Regions from separate parts of the Homo sapiens genome. Here region 2 is linked to region 1. Evidence: promoter capture Hi-C in 16 types of primary human blood cells and fetal thymus (Javierre and others, 2016). All regions are on one chromosome and are shown on one strand. The core of a region is centred on a gene start or on the middle of the fragment in contact, and the rest is flanking DNA. Distances in the headings are between cores, read along the strand shown. Region 1 holds the start of PARP4 (poly(ADP-ribose) polymerase family member 4). Region 2 overlaps MTMR6 (myotubularin related protein 6).

What was found. The method cuts DNA at HindIII sites, captures the fragments that hold promoters and counts their contacts. A CHiCAGO score of 5 or more calls a contact.
Region 2: a fragment that was not itself captured here is called in contact with the fragment with the promoter of PARP4 in region 1 in 1 of 17 cell types (monocytes); the score reaches 5.3 in monocytes.

Annotation. Positions count from the first base shown.
Region 1 is chr13:24,509,920-24,516,664 of GRCh38, reverse strand. PARP4 (poly(ADP-ribose) polymerase family member 4) reads left to right here and starts at 3,887. Exons shown (of 34, transcript NM_006437.4): 1 at 3,887-3,959. The region is part of intron 1 of LOC105370117 (a long non-coding RNA gene); the gene reads right to left. RefSeq lists a silencer at 3,730-3,889. The HindIII fragment of the contact is 3,630 bases long and covers 1,280-4,909 here.
Region 2 is chr13:25,275,475-25,282,314 of GRCh38, reverse strand. All of the region lies in intron 1 of MTMR6 (myotubularin related protein 6), which reads left to right. Among named protein-coding and RNA genes, the nearest start is that of MTMR6, 8.6 kb to the left of the region's middle. The HindIII fragment of the contact is 3,570 bases long and covers 2,172-5,741 here.

The sequences.
Region 1 (6,745 bases), core at 2,638-5,137:
GAGGACATGTCAGGTGCAGTGGCTTACACCTGTAATCCCAGCACTTTGAAACACTGAAGTGGATCATTCGCGCCCAGAAGTTTGAATGTTAGCCAGGCATGGTGGCATGCACCTGTAGCCCTAGCTACTTGGGAGGCTCAGGCAGGAGGATCACTTGAGCCCAGGAGTTTAAGGTTATGATCACACCACTAGACTGCAGCCTGGGCGACAGAGTGAAACCCCCAACTCTTAAAAAGAAAAAAGAGAGAACATAAGTGCTAGCCTGGCCAAGGGATGATCCCCAAGCCCATGTCTTCCAGGCCAGAAAGGGGAATTCTAACAGGTTGGGAAGATGCACTGAGAGATGCATGTGTCTGGCCTCTAGGCAAACCCAAGAAAACCCACATCCTCCTTCACCTGCAGGAAGAGTGAAGGAGTTCTTCACCAAGGCCTGAAACCTCAGATTTCCAGAATTACTTCTGGAAAGTTTCTAACAACAACCTTGGGTGCTGAGAGACATTTTTTAAATCTTGGCAGTTTGATATAGGTAAATCTATTGCTGGTGCATTGGACTTACAACAAAACATCCTGGAAACCTAATGAGTCTATACAGCAAAGGGATTATCACATCCACTACATTCTAGAATGCCTGACCAATGATGAATGAAGTTGAATAGATAGTAAAGGATTTCTAGCTTGAATCTTTGTTGTAATAAGAGCAGAACAATACCATAATAGTTGTCACACCTGTATTTTTGCTTTCTTCAAAAATAGCAATAATTATATAGTAGTTGGATGGTTCTTCAAGCATTCTATAGGTTTTTATTACACATTTTTTTTAGATGGGATGACTCTATCACCCAGGCTGGAGGGCAGTGGCACAATTACAACTCACTGTAGCCTCAACCTCCAGGTCTCAAGTGTTCCTCCTGCCTCAGCCTCCTAGGTAGCTGAGATGACAGGCACATGCCACCATACCTGGCTAATTTTTGCATTTTTTGTAGAGATGGGTTTTCACCATGTTGCCCAGGCTGGTCTTGAACTCCTGGGCTCAAGCAATCCACCTGCCTCAGCCTCCCAAAGTGCCAGGATTACAGGCATGAGTCACCGTGCCTGGCCTATCATTTCTTGGAGGAGAGTTTTAACAGATATAGAATTCATGGTTGCCGGTTTGTTTGTTTTCTTTCAGCACTTTATATCATCCCACTGCCTTCTGGCTCCCATGGTAATAGATTGGCTGTTAATCTTATTCAAGTTCCTTTGTATGTAGTGATCATTTCTGTCTAGCTGCTTTTAAGCTTCTCTCTGTCTTTGGCTTTCAACAGTTTGATTATTAATATAACTCTATTGTGGACTTTTTGAGTTTATCATACTTGAAGTTCATGGAGCTTCTCTGAAGTGTTACATTATGTATTTTAACAAATTGGGGACTTTGGAGCCACTGTTTCTTCAGATACTCTTCCTGCCACCTTCACCCTCATCTTTCTTTCTGGGACCCCCTTTATGCATATGCTGATACACTTGATGGTGTCCACAAATCTTTTGGACTTTGATCTTCATTCTTCTACTTTCTGCTCCTCAGAGTTAATAATTTCAACAGTTTTATCTTCGAGTTTGCTCATTCCTTCTCTTACCTGCTCAAATCTACTCTGGAGCATCACTTGTGTATTTTTCATTTAAGTTATTGTATTTTTTTCTTTTTCTTTTCTTCTTCTTTTTTTTTTTTTTGAGACAAGATATTGCTCTGTCACCCAGGCTGGAGTGCAGGAGTGTGATCTTAGCTCACTGCAGCCATGAACTTCTTGGCTCAAGTGATCCTCCTGCCTTAGCCTCCTGAGTAGCTAGGGCCACAGGCATGCACCACCATGCCCGGTTAATTTTGTAATTTTTTTGTAGAGAGGGGATCTCCCTATGTTGCCAAGGCAAACTCTTGGTCTCAAGCGATCCTCCCGCCTTGGCCTCCCAAGACACTAGGATTACAGGCATGAACCACCATGCCTGGTCCTATTGTACTTTTTAACTACACAATTTCTTTTTGGTTCTTTTCAGTTCCAAAATGTGTTTGGTTCCTTTTATAATTTCTATCTCTTTATTAATATTCCTTATTTGTTTTTTAAATAATTTCAACTTTTATTTTAGATTCAGAGGGTACATGTGCAGGCTTGTTACCTACATATAATTCGTGGTGCTGAGGTTTGGGGTATGACTGAGCCCCTCACCCGGGGACTGAGCATAGTACCCAATAGTTTTTCAACCCTTGCCCCTCCCCCTCCCTCCCTGTCTAGTTGTCCCCAGTGTCTATTGTTGCCATCTTTATATCCATGAGTACCCAGTGTTTAGCTCCCACTTACAAATTAGAACATGTGGTATTTGGTTTTCTGTTCCTTCATTAATTCACTTACGACAATGGCCTCCAGTTGCAGTCACGTTGCTGTGAAGGACATGATTCCATTCATTCTTTTTATGGCTTCGTAGTATTCCATGGTGCAAATGTACCACATTTTCTTTATCCAGTCCATTGTCGATGAGCACCTAAGTTCATTCCATGTCTTTCCTATTGTGAAGCGTGCTGTGACGAACATACTAGTGCATGTGTCTTTTTGGTAGAATGAGTTCTCTTGTTTTGAATATGTACCCAGTAATGGGATAGCTGGGTTGAATAGCAGTTCTGTTTTCAGCACTTTGAGAAATCTTCAAACTGGTTTCCACAGTGGTTCAACTAATTTACATTCCCACTGACAGTGTATAAGCATTTCCTTTTCAATAAAGCCTTGCCAGCATCTGTTGTTCCTTGACTTTTTAATAATAACCATTCTGACTGGTGTAAGATGGTATCTCATTGCAGTTTTAATTTGCACTTTTCTGATAATTAGTTATGCTGGGCTTTTTTTCATGCTTGTTGACCATTTGCACATCTTCTATTGCATATTCTCTATTTATTGAGACTTTGTTCTCCTGGTTGTTTCTTTCAGTTATTTTTCTATGTTTCCTTTCACTTTTTGTCCATGTTTAAGACAGTTTATTTGAAGTATTTGTCTAATAATTCCTATGTCTGTGCTTCCTCAGCTCAGGGACAATTTCTGTTCATTTCTTTTTTCCTTTGAATTGGCCATTTTTTCGCCTTTTTTTTTGCATGCCTCATAATTTTTTGTTGAAGATTGGACATTTTGAGCATTACGATGTGGTAACTCTAGGAATCAGTCTCTCTCCTCCCCCAGAATCTCTTGTTGTTTCTTAGACAACCCTATAGAGTAGGTTGTAATGATGAAACTTGGTAAATTACCTTGTCCCCAGCCCCCTTGGTAATAAATTGTGGAGTCAGGATTCAACCCCATACCCTTTCCACTGTATTCTCTACTCTATCCTTTCTATTCTCATTTTATTCAGTATCCTAAAAATCTGAATCTTCCCCATTGCTTTATTCCCATTTCAGTGAATCTCAGATCTGTATCTCCAGCCCCCTGCCTCTCTTGAATGGCAGATAAATATATTTCCAACTAGTTACACTGTCACGAATTTCAAACGCAGGAAGGCTTAAAGTAAATTTATTATCTCACTCTCCTGTTTCCACGAACTTTCCCGAAATTTTCTTCTTTCCCGGCCTTGTGAATCCCTTCCATTTCTCAGTTAAAGGACAGCACCATCCACCCACCTCTCTCAAAGCCGAGCTTTGTATTAATCCTCATTGACAAAATCCCTCCTGAAATATGAAACTGAAAGCCCTGAACCCTCCGGCTGATCTTGGAAGAGAAACCCCGCCAGAGGCCGGGGACCCGCTCCCCACCTGGCGGACCCGATTCCGGGCGCGTTCCGGCTATCGTCCCTGCTTGGGACGCTGCGCCCGCCTGGTGCGGGGCGGGGTTCCGGCGCAGTGGCGCCCGCCCAGCCCCGGGGGCAGGGAGAGCCTAGATTACGGAAGTACCGCGAGCAAGGAGCGCGGAATCGGGGAGCGTCCGGAGCTAGCTGGATCCTCTAGGCAGGTGCGTGGGCGCTGCGGGGTGGGGGGCTGCAAAGGTCCCTGTAGTCCTAGCCAGGAAGTGGCCCGCGTACTACTTTCCCGCCAGTGGCTGCACCCTTGCCCTGCGCGGCGTTGGCGCTGTGGGCCTGACGGCGCTGCTAGGCTCGGGAGTGGACTAGCTAGTGCAGCCAGCGCCCTCGGGGAGGGATATTGCGGTCGTTCCGCTCTGCCCCGCGGCGCAGCCCTGGTGACGAGAAACCGGGTGCGGTGGGGGGCGCCCACCGGAGCCGACAGTCACACCAAGTCTCCGCACCCCGTGCGGTGCGGTTCGCAGTAGCACGCGTTGTTTCTTGTTTCCAGTATGCCAAACGGCCTTCTTTCCTAAAGTTAGGTTTCGAATTGTGCAAAAAGTAAGGTGGTTTGGTGAGTAATCAGGAAGTACTATCTGACCTCGTGAGTCATTGGGAACACCGTGATAGAAACAATGTGTTTGTTGAGGTCCAAAGTTGAAAACCTCTAACTCAGTTAAGTAATTCCTGCTAGGAGGGCCGAATGGTTCACCCAGGGATCGAGTTGGTAGATCACAGGTTCTAGAAAACTAAGGCGCTGCTAAATATTCAAGCCCAAGCACTTTCAATTCTGGACTGCTGGATGACAACAATTATATGACAATATCCAAGCATAGTGCTATGATAAAGGGGAAGTTCGCTCTGAGATGTGCGTGTTGCAGACTCATTACATCTGACTTTATCATTTATTAAGTAAACATTAGGTCTTGTTTGTGTGCGTAGAGCTACTGTATATCATGTAGGAGTGAAATAAAAGTAGTACCTTTGTTGTTTAAGGGTTTAATAAACCCATTAGGGAGGTGCATTACTGATGCCATTTGAGTCCAAAATGCAAATAGTGTCAGAAGGCTTTTCTGTAATCCTGGGCTTTAATGGATACGTGAGAGTTTTTAGTAAGCAAGCTTTTATTGAATGCCCACTGTATATCAAAAGTGATCTTAGCGTGTGCTGACTCACACACTTCGGAAGGCGGAGGCTGTAGAATCAAGACTGCCCAGAAAGGGACTCCTCAGGGTTTTCCGAGAGGAGGAAATGCCAGTGGTAAAGACGAAGACCTGTGAAGCAGGAAGCCACTTGATTCCACCTACACCAATGGTTTATGGAGCAGCCAAGAGTTTGTGAGGAGGCGCGCTGAGGGTTTCTTAGGAATCGGGGCTGTTCCCTGCTGTCTTTGGGTGGAAGACACTCTGTGAATGTTATTTGGGGAAGAAGCTGGGAAGGGGGACAGGCTGGAGTGACTGTGCAGATTTGCCTTAGAGAATAACCAGCCCCTAGCCCAGTGTCCGCCACATCTCATATGTACGTAATCAGCGCTGATGAAAACATGAACTAACTCTGTGTTTAGAGAACACTTTGAAACAAGGAAGAACTAGTGGCGCATGTCGGTTAGGCGCTGTTAACCCAGAAGAGGGCTGGCATTTTACAGAGACTAGAGATGAATCTGTGGAAAGAGAGAAGTCAAGACCTGACTTGAGATTTCACGAAACCCAAAGTGCGCCTTTCCATACCTCCCACGCAGCCGCAGGTGCTAAGAACAGACCGCAGATTTATGTTTAAAATGTTTTTACTCTGGGCCGGGCGTGGCAGCTCACACCTGTAACCCCAGCACTCTGGGAGGCTGAGGCAGGAGGATGGCTTGAGCCCAGGAGTTTGTGACCAGCCTTGGCAACATAGTAAGAACCCTGTCTCTACCAAAATTAGCTGGGCATGGTGGTGCAGGCCTGTGGTCCCAGCTACTAAGTAGGCCGGGTGAAAGGATTGCTGGGAGGGAGGTCGAGGTTGCAGTGAGCTGTGACAGTGACCACACCACTGCACTCCAGCTTGGGAGACAGAGCCAGACCCTGTCTCAAATAAAATAAAATGTTTATACTTTGATTTCACAACTATGTGTATGTACTTAATGCCACTGAACTGTACACACAGTTTTAAAAACTGTACCACAATTTTTAAAAGGCTAAAAAATGTTTATACTCCTTGATTCAGTAATTCCATTTCTGGCCATCAACTCTAGGGAAACTATGACAGAGATGTGGCAAAAAAATATATGTACAAGCATTTTAATTAAAGTGTATTTCTAATAGTGAACACTTTTTTTTTTTTTTTTTTGAGACGGAGTCTCGCTCTGTCGCCCAGGCTGGAGTGCAGTGGCGGGATCTCCGCTCACTGCAAGCTCCGCCTCCCGGGTTCACGCCATTCCCCTGCCTCAGCCTCCCAAGTAGCTGGGACTACAGGCACCCGCCACTACGCCCGGCTAATTTTTTGTATTTTTAGTAGAGACGGGGTTTCACCGTTTTAGCCGGGATGGCCTCGATCTCCTGACCTCGTGATCCGCCCGCCTCGGCCTCCCAAAATGCTGGGATTACAGGTGTGAGCCACCGCGCCCGGCCAATAGTGAACACTTTTAAGTAACCAAGTATCTGATGACTTGGGGAAGGATGAAATAAACGCAAAGCTTATGTAACCACTAAAAACACCTTCAAAGAATATTTAGTGACATGGGGAGGATATCACTAAAAGCTAAATAAGCTGTGAAAGTGAAAGTCCTATTTAAAAAGTAAAGAGCAACTGGCTATAACATTAAATATAGAATATTAATAATTTAGAAAATACAATGATACAAGAAATAATAACACCAAAAAAATTAAAATATCAACAGTGGGGGCTAGGTGTGGTGGCTCATGCCTGTAATCCTAGCACTTTGGGAGGCAGAGGTGGGCAGATCACTTGAGCTCAGGAATTC
Region 2 (6,840 bases), core at 2,707-5,206, 770 kb before region 1:
AGGGCTCTGAAGAGTATGAGGGTTGAGGAGGGGGTTTAAGGGAGGACTGCTATAAATTGAGTGGTTAGGGAAGCTCTTACAGAGAAGGTGACTCTTGAGTATAAACCTGAAACTGGTGAGGGAGTAAGCCATCCCCACATGGGGGATGGCGGGGAGAGTCCCAACAAAGGGAACAACAGGGGCAAAAACCCTTTGAGGGCATGCCTGGTTGCTAAGAACAAGCAAGACAGCTAGAGCAGGGTGAGTGAAGAAGAGCACAGTAGAAGATTAAAGTTGGGGGACAGGGGCAAGTTACTGTAGTCTTGAAGGCCACTGTAAAATCTTTGCTTTTTTTGAGTGAGATAGGAAGCCATTGATGGAATAAGCAAAGTAAGAAAAAACTGAAAAGTGCCCACTGGATTTACGATCTGAGGTTACTCTCTCCCCTCTTGAGGTCCATGACTGTTTCATTTGATAATTTATGCAGCCAGACACTGTTCTAGAAATTGGGATACATGAACAGAAACCATAATCTCTGCCCTCCACTTCCTGCACACAACTTGATGTGCTTTCTTTTTGAAAGCTAATTCTTGGCAGGATGTCAGTGTGAAATGATTCTGAGAGTCCTAGATGAGTGCCTGGCTATAGGGAAGGAGTGCGACAAGCCAGAGGAACAGTGATGGTGCACTTTCTGCTTCAGTAGCCACAGCGTCTATTGTTATGTAGTTGTAGAATAAGTACAACTGTTGGTCACAGAAGTCTGAAGAAGGCCATTGGTCCCTTCCTGTCCCAGAGGCCACTTTTTCCTCAGGGATAAAGAGGTGTCTGAATTTTCTGAATGTGATTCTGTTTGTGTGACTCCCTGTGTTTTTCATTTGGAATCTTTTCTTCTTTTTTTTCTTTTCTCTTCCTTTCCTTCCTTTTCCTTTCCTCTTTTCTCTTTCCCCTTTCCTTTCTCCTTTCTTCTTTGTCCTTTCTCCTGTCTTTCTCCTTTCCTTTCCAACAAGATCTTGCTCTGTCACCTAGGCTGGAGTGCAGTGGTATGATCATAACTCATTGCAGCCTCTACCTCCTGGGCTCAAACGATCCTCCTGCCTTTACCTCCCAAGTAGCTGGGTCTGCAGGAGCATGCCACCATGCCTGGCTAATTAGAAAATAATTTTCTTTTTCTGTAGAGATGAGGGTGTCACTATGTTGCTCAGACTGGTTCTCAGACTCCTGGTCTCAAGCAATCCTCCTGCCTTGGCCTCCCAAAGTGTTGGGATTACAAGCGTAAGCTACTACACCTGTAGTGGCCCCAACATTTTCTGAGTGTGATTCTGTATGTGTGGGGTTCTCTGTGTTTTCCAGTTCTAATTTTATAATTGGCTGAAATTTGAACTTTCTGCCTGGACCATTAGGGTACCTTTTAGTGCAGGCCCATAGTTGGCAACAATTCAACTAAATAGTCCTTAAAGTAATGTGTGTTGGCATTTACCATTCCTCACCAAAGCGACATCTTCCAATTCCTTTCTCCTTGCCACATTTTCGTTTTTCGTTTGTTCTTTCTTTTCCCAAAGTCTTTTTTTCTTTTTTTTCATTTACTTTTTGGCTGTGATGATACCTATAATTTAAGGATCCTAATAGTTTCTTAGTACTTCAGTGTTAGTGACCAGAAAGAATTGTAGTTGCTTCCTAAACATCTGACTTAATACATTTCCAAGAACAGACTGGGGAAAATCTGTAGCAACATCTGTAAAATACTTTTAGTTCCTTGCTGAAAGGGGGAAATATAAAGAAGCAGTTGGTTTTTAGAAGTTGACTAAGTCTGTGGTTTGAAATTTGTATGCCAATGATTTTAGCAAAGAAAAACATTTGATTTCCCCTCCTTAGGGGTGAGGGGTGGGATTTGCCACAAAGAGCAAAATAATCAGTGTATTTTCTCAGAAATTCTCTTATTTTCTTGAGAACTTTAGTGTAAATACTAAATAAATGTTGTGGAATGATTTCAGATTAATTTCACTATCTGTCACATTCATATGGAGATTACCCATTGAAGCAGTTGTATGTAATGATTTTCTGTTATATAGATTTGAATATAAGTTGGTTTATGCTAAGATAGTCCTCAGTTTGTTATATTAAAGACATTCCTTTCAGACATTTTCTTCTCTGTACTACTTTATCTTAGTGAATGGCAACCAGTGTGACAAGCTTAAAACCCTTAAGGAATCTCTGTTTTTCCTCCTTTCTTCCTTCCGTTATCAGTTTTGTTATTATCTCAAGATGGACTTCCTCTCTGTCACAGCTTACTCCAGGCCCTAATTATATCAGCCAGTCACTTAGATGGCTTCATTAGCTTCTTACCTGGTTGCCCTTAATCAACTCAGCATTTTCTCCACATTCACACTGGAATGATCTTACAAGCCATATTTCCTAATGGACTACTGTGCTTAAAAACCTCTGTATCTTTTTTAATCTACAGCACAGATTTTGTACCTTAACATATGGTTTTTTTTTCATCAGATAAACCTCTGCTATTGAGACATAAATGTTATATTTCCTCTGTTGAGAATTTTGTATTTTCCCTATTCCCATTAGTGAAGAACATTTTGCTGATCTGTGCTTTCATCATTTACAGTAGTTTCTTCCAACTATGGAGCACCTTAAAATATGGAATTTGCCTTTTAAACTCCATACGCATCCTTCTTCCTTTCTCCATTTGAACTTATCTGGATAGTAGCTTGACATAGAGGACTGTCAGGGCTCTACCTACTTGACTAGATTACTAACTACAGTAGTTTTGCAAATATTTACTTGAGCACAAATATTATTGCTTATATTTATTAGGCAAATAAAGTACCTGTATTAGTCCATTTTCACACTGCTATAAAGAACAACTCAAGACTGGGTAATTTATAGAGGAAAGAGGTTTAATTGACTCAAGTTCCACATGGCTGGAGAGGCCTCAGGAAACTTACAATCTTGGTGGAAGGTGAAGGGAAGCAAGACACGTCTTCTCATGGTGGCAGGAGAGAGAGAGAGCAAAGGGGGAAAGTGTCCCACTTTAAAACCATTAGAACTCATGAGGACTCACTGTGAAGAGAGAACAGCATGGGGGAAACCACCCCCATGATCCAATCACCTCCCACCAGGTCACTTCCTGCACACATGGGGATTACAATCCAAGATGAAATTTGGACGGGGACACAGAGCCAAACCATATCAGTACCTGACATTTATTATCCAACCTTTCAGTAGCTTTCTGAAAAGAGATTATTGTCCTTATTTTAGAGATAAAGAAATGAGATACAGATAGATTGGCCCTTAGTTGATAGCCAGTACATTTTTGTTGAGTGAATTAGTAAACTCTTTCCTGATAGTATATATTTATCTACATGTTCTTCAAAGATGTATGTGTGTTTGAGTGTGTGCGTGCATGTAATGGAGTTGTGCATCTGTTTTATTTTATTTTATGACAGAGTCTCGCTCTGTCACTCAAGCTGGAGTGCAATGACTCAGCCTCTGCTCTGTGCAACCTCTGCCTCCAGGGTTCAAGTGATTCTCATGCCTCAGCCTCCTAAGTAGCTGGGATTACAGGTGTGCACCACGATGCCCAGCTGATTTTTTTTTTTTTTTTTTTTTTTTTTGCAGAGTCTTGCTCTTGTGCCCAGGCTGGAGTGCAGTGATGCAATTTCGGCTCACTGCAACCTCCACCTCCTGGGTTCAAGCGATTCTCCTGCCTCAGCCTCCCGAGTAGCTGGGATTACAGGTGCCTGCCCAGCTAATTTTTGTATTTTTAGTAGAGACAGGGTTTCACCATGTTGGCCAGGCTGGTTTCGAACTCCTGACCTGAGGTGATCCACCCTCCTTGGCCTCCCAAAGTGCTGGGATTGCAAGCTGCGCCCGGCTGCTAATTTTTATATGTTTAGTAAAGCAGGGTTTCGCCATGTTGGCCAGGCTGGTCTCAAACTCTTGGGCTCAAGTGATTGCCTTACCTCTGCCTCCCAAAGTGCTGAGATTACAGGCGTGAGCCACCACACCCGGTAGCAGTTGTGCATTTTAAAGGATCAAAGTTGTAATAAGCTCCTTTAAAATGTGGGAGAAATAGATAAGCTGAGGCTGTTAATATTTGGGAAAAGAGCCTAAAGGTAGAGAAGGAAGCTAGCCTCATGTGTGTTAAGAGTCAGAGGAATTAATTTGGAGTTAAAGTTAGAAGAAATGTCAGTTGCATAAGATGAGCAGGTGAACTTATGAAAAATACGGATTCTTAGTCTCCATCTCCTCAGATAACTGAGTGAAGTTGGGGTGAGGCTTTGGATTTGTACTTTTGCAAAGTTTTAGAGGTGATTCATATGAACAGCTAGGATTTGAATCCTGTATAGCTGACCAAAATTAAAGATCTAACAAAGAGAATTTCAGATTATTTTGCATATAAAACTAAGGGGAGTCAGGAAATAGGCTTAGAGTGTTGGAAAGAGCATTTTCACCACAAATTTCCCACCTTGATAAGAGACCCAGCCAGAAAGAACTATACAGTTCTAGAGGAGTGATTTTATTCTAATCGAATGATGGAGTGGGGATAGAGGATTGAAAGTCCAGACATGTACTACACACAGAAAAAAAACCCAAAACCAAAAACTGAACTATACCTATGTGTTCTACTAGTAGTTTTCTATTTGCTTTTAGTTTGTTGCTGGTTTATTCAAGAATTACTGAATGAATACCTACTGTTCACCCACTGTGTAGGGAAAAGATAGCAGAGAGATGAGGAAAAGTATAATGGGATAAAGAAGAATCTTATTTAATAAATCAAATGATTTCAACAAAAGGGATCACTGGTAAATTGGGCACACCTTCTGGTTTTCACCTGGGGGAATAATTTTTCTGTGGCCGTTCATCTTAGTTCAACAAACATTTATTGTGTCAGACACTCTACTAACCGTTAGGAGATATTCATGCATAAATGAAAGACAGTCTTTGCCCTGGGCTATGTTAGTCTTTAGTGGAAAAGACAGATACATGAACAGAGGCTTTCATTATAATTTAGGAATTACTTTAATAGTGGTGAAAGGGGCAGATTTAAAAATATTTAGGTGATAAAAATGGTAGGAATTGGTGATTGATTGAATGTTGGGGGTTGAGAAGAAGTCATAGGATCATTCACGGATTTCCAGTGTGGGTGACTTGATAAGGATGGAGGAGTAACATTAACTCACATCCAAAATACAGAATTAGAAATGTATTTGTGAGGGGTGAGAGGGGAAATCAGTTTTGCGTTCAGTATGTATAACACGGCTCAAACACATCTAAGTGGAGGCAGTATAGCATAGTGGGAAGGTGTTTTGGCTTGGGAATCAGATCACATAGGTTTATGACTAAGCTATACCACTAGCTGCTTCTAGCTGTATGACTTTGAGATGACTAACCAACCTCACCAAGTCCCAGTTTCTGTGGGGACAGTACTAGTACATACTACACAGGAGTTGTGAAAATTAAAAGAAATAATGTATGGTAAGCACTTATCACAGCACTAGGCACATAGTGAGACCTCACTAGTATGTCAGGAAATATTATCTGTGTAGCAGACAGTGTGAACTCAGGAGACAGCAGAGCTGGACATACAGTTTTGGGAGTCATTAAAATATAGGCTAACATAATGACAGTAGGTAAGATTCCTATAGAGAATGGACCCCTGAGGAAGAGTAATAGTGAACAGGGGATGGACAGAAGAGGAATAAAATCCAAATGAAAAGCGGTGTGATTGTTTTGCATGTATAGAAGCTTTGTAGATACTTGTGCCTCATAGAGAAGTTACAACTTGAGGTTTATAATTGGAGCACAACCAGGAATATTTATGATCTTCAAAAAATCCACAAATTTAAAATTTCACATGGATTTCTTTTTAAAGCAAACTTCCTATTTAAATAGTAATAAAATCAGCCCCTCCCCACTTTTAAACTACTTGCCAGTAGACTTTTTAATTTTTTCTGAGAAGCTATTTGAAACTCTACTGAATGATGTGGACACAAATTATTTGCTTGAGTAGTGTTGATACTTTGTGGTAACCTTTATTTCCATATATATTCATCAACTGTCTTCTTGTTAGAGCCTTAAAAACTTTGTTTTAATAGCTTAGGAAATGATATGGTTTGGCTCTGTGGCTCCACCCAAAAAGACAGGTGAGATCTATATTGCAATAATTGCTCGGTGGTGGTTGGCCACAGTGCCCTTTCCAGCCAAGTCACGCACAATGAAGAGGAGTAAACAGTAGTTGATCCCATTTGTCTTAAAAGGTGTTTAAGTTTGGATTTGCAGTGTGTTGTAAAATGAAGCTAGATTTTTATTTAAGGGAGAAATAGTCCTAAACAGTGAAATAAATGTTGACCTCTAAGAGAAATCTTTATTCAGGTTTTTAAGTAGAAAGCCTTCCTCTCCCCTCCCCTCCTCTCCCCTCCCCTCCTCTCCCCTCCCCTCCCCTCCCCTCCCTTCTTTTTTGAGACGGAGTTTCGCTCTTGTTGCCCAGGCGGGAGTGCAGTGGTGCAATCTTGGCTCACCGCAACCTCTGACCCCCAGATTCAAGTGATTCTCCTGCCTCAGCCTCCCGAGTAGCTAGGATTATAGGCGCCCGCCACTACACCTAGCTAATTTTTTGTATTTTTGATAGAGACGGGGTTTCACCATGTTGGGCAGGCTGGTCTTGAACTCCTGACCTCATGATTCCCCTGCCTTAGCCTCCCAAAGTGCTGGGATTACAGGCGTGAGCCACCACACCCGGCGGTAATGAAATATATTAATATATGGGAGAAAATTGTAGAATTAATGAGCTAGTGTTTAGCTATCTAGATGATTTTGAAGATATAAACGATTTAAAAAACTGTCTGC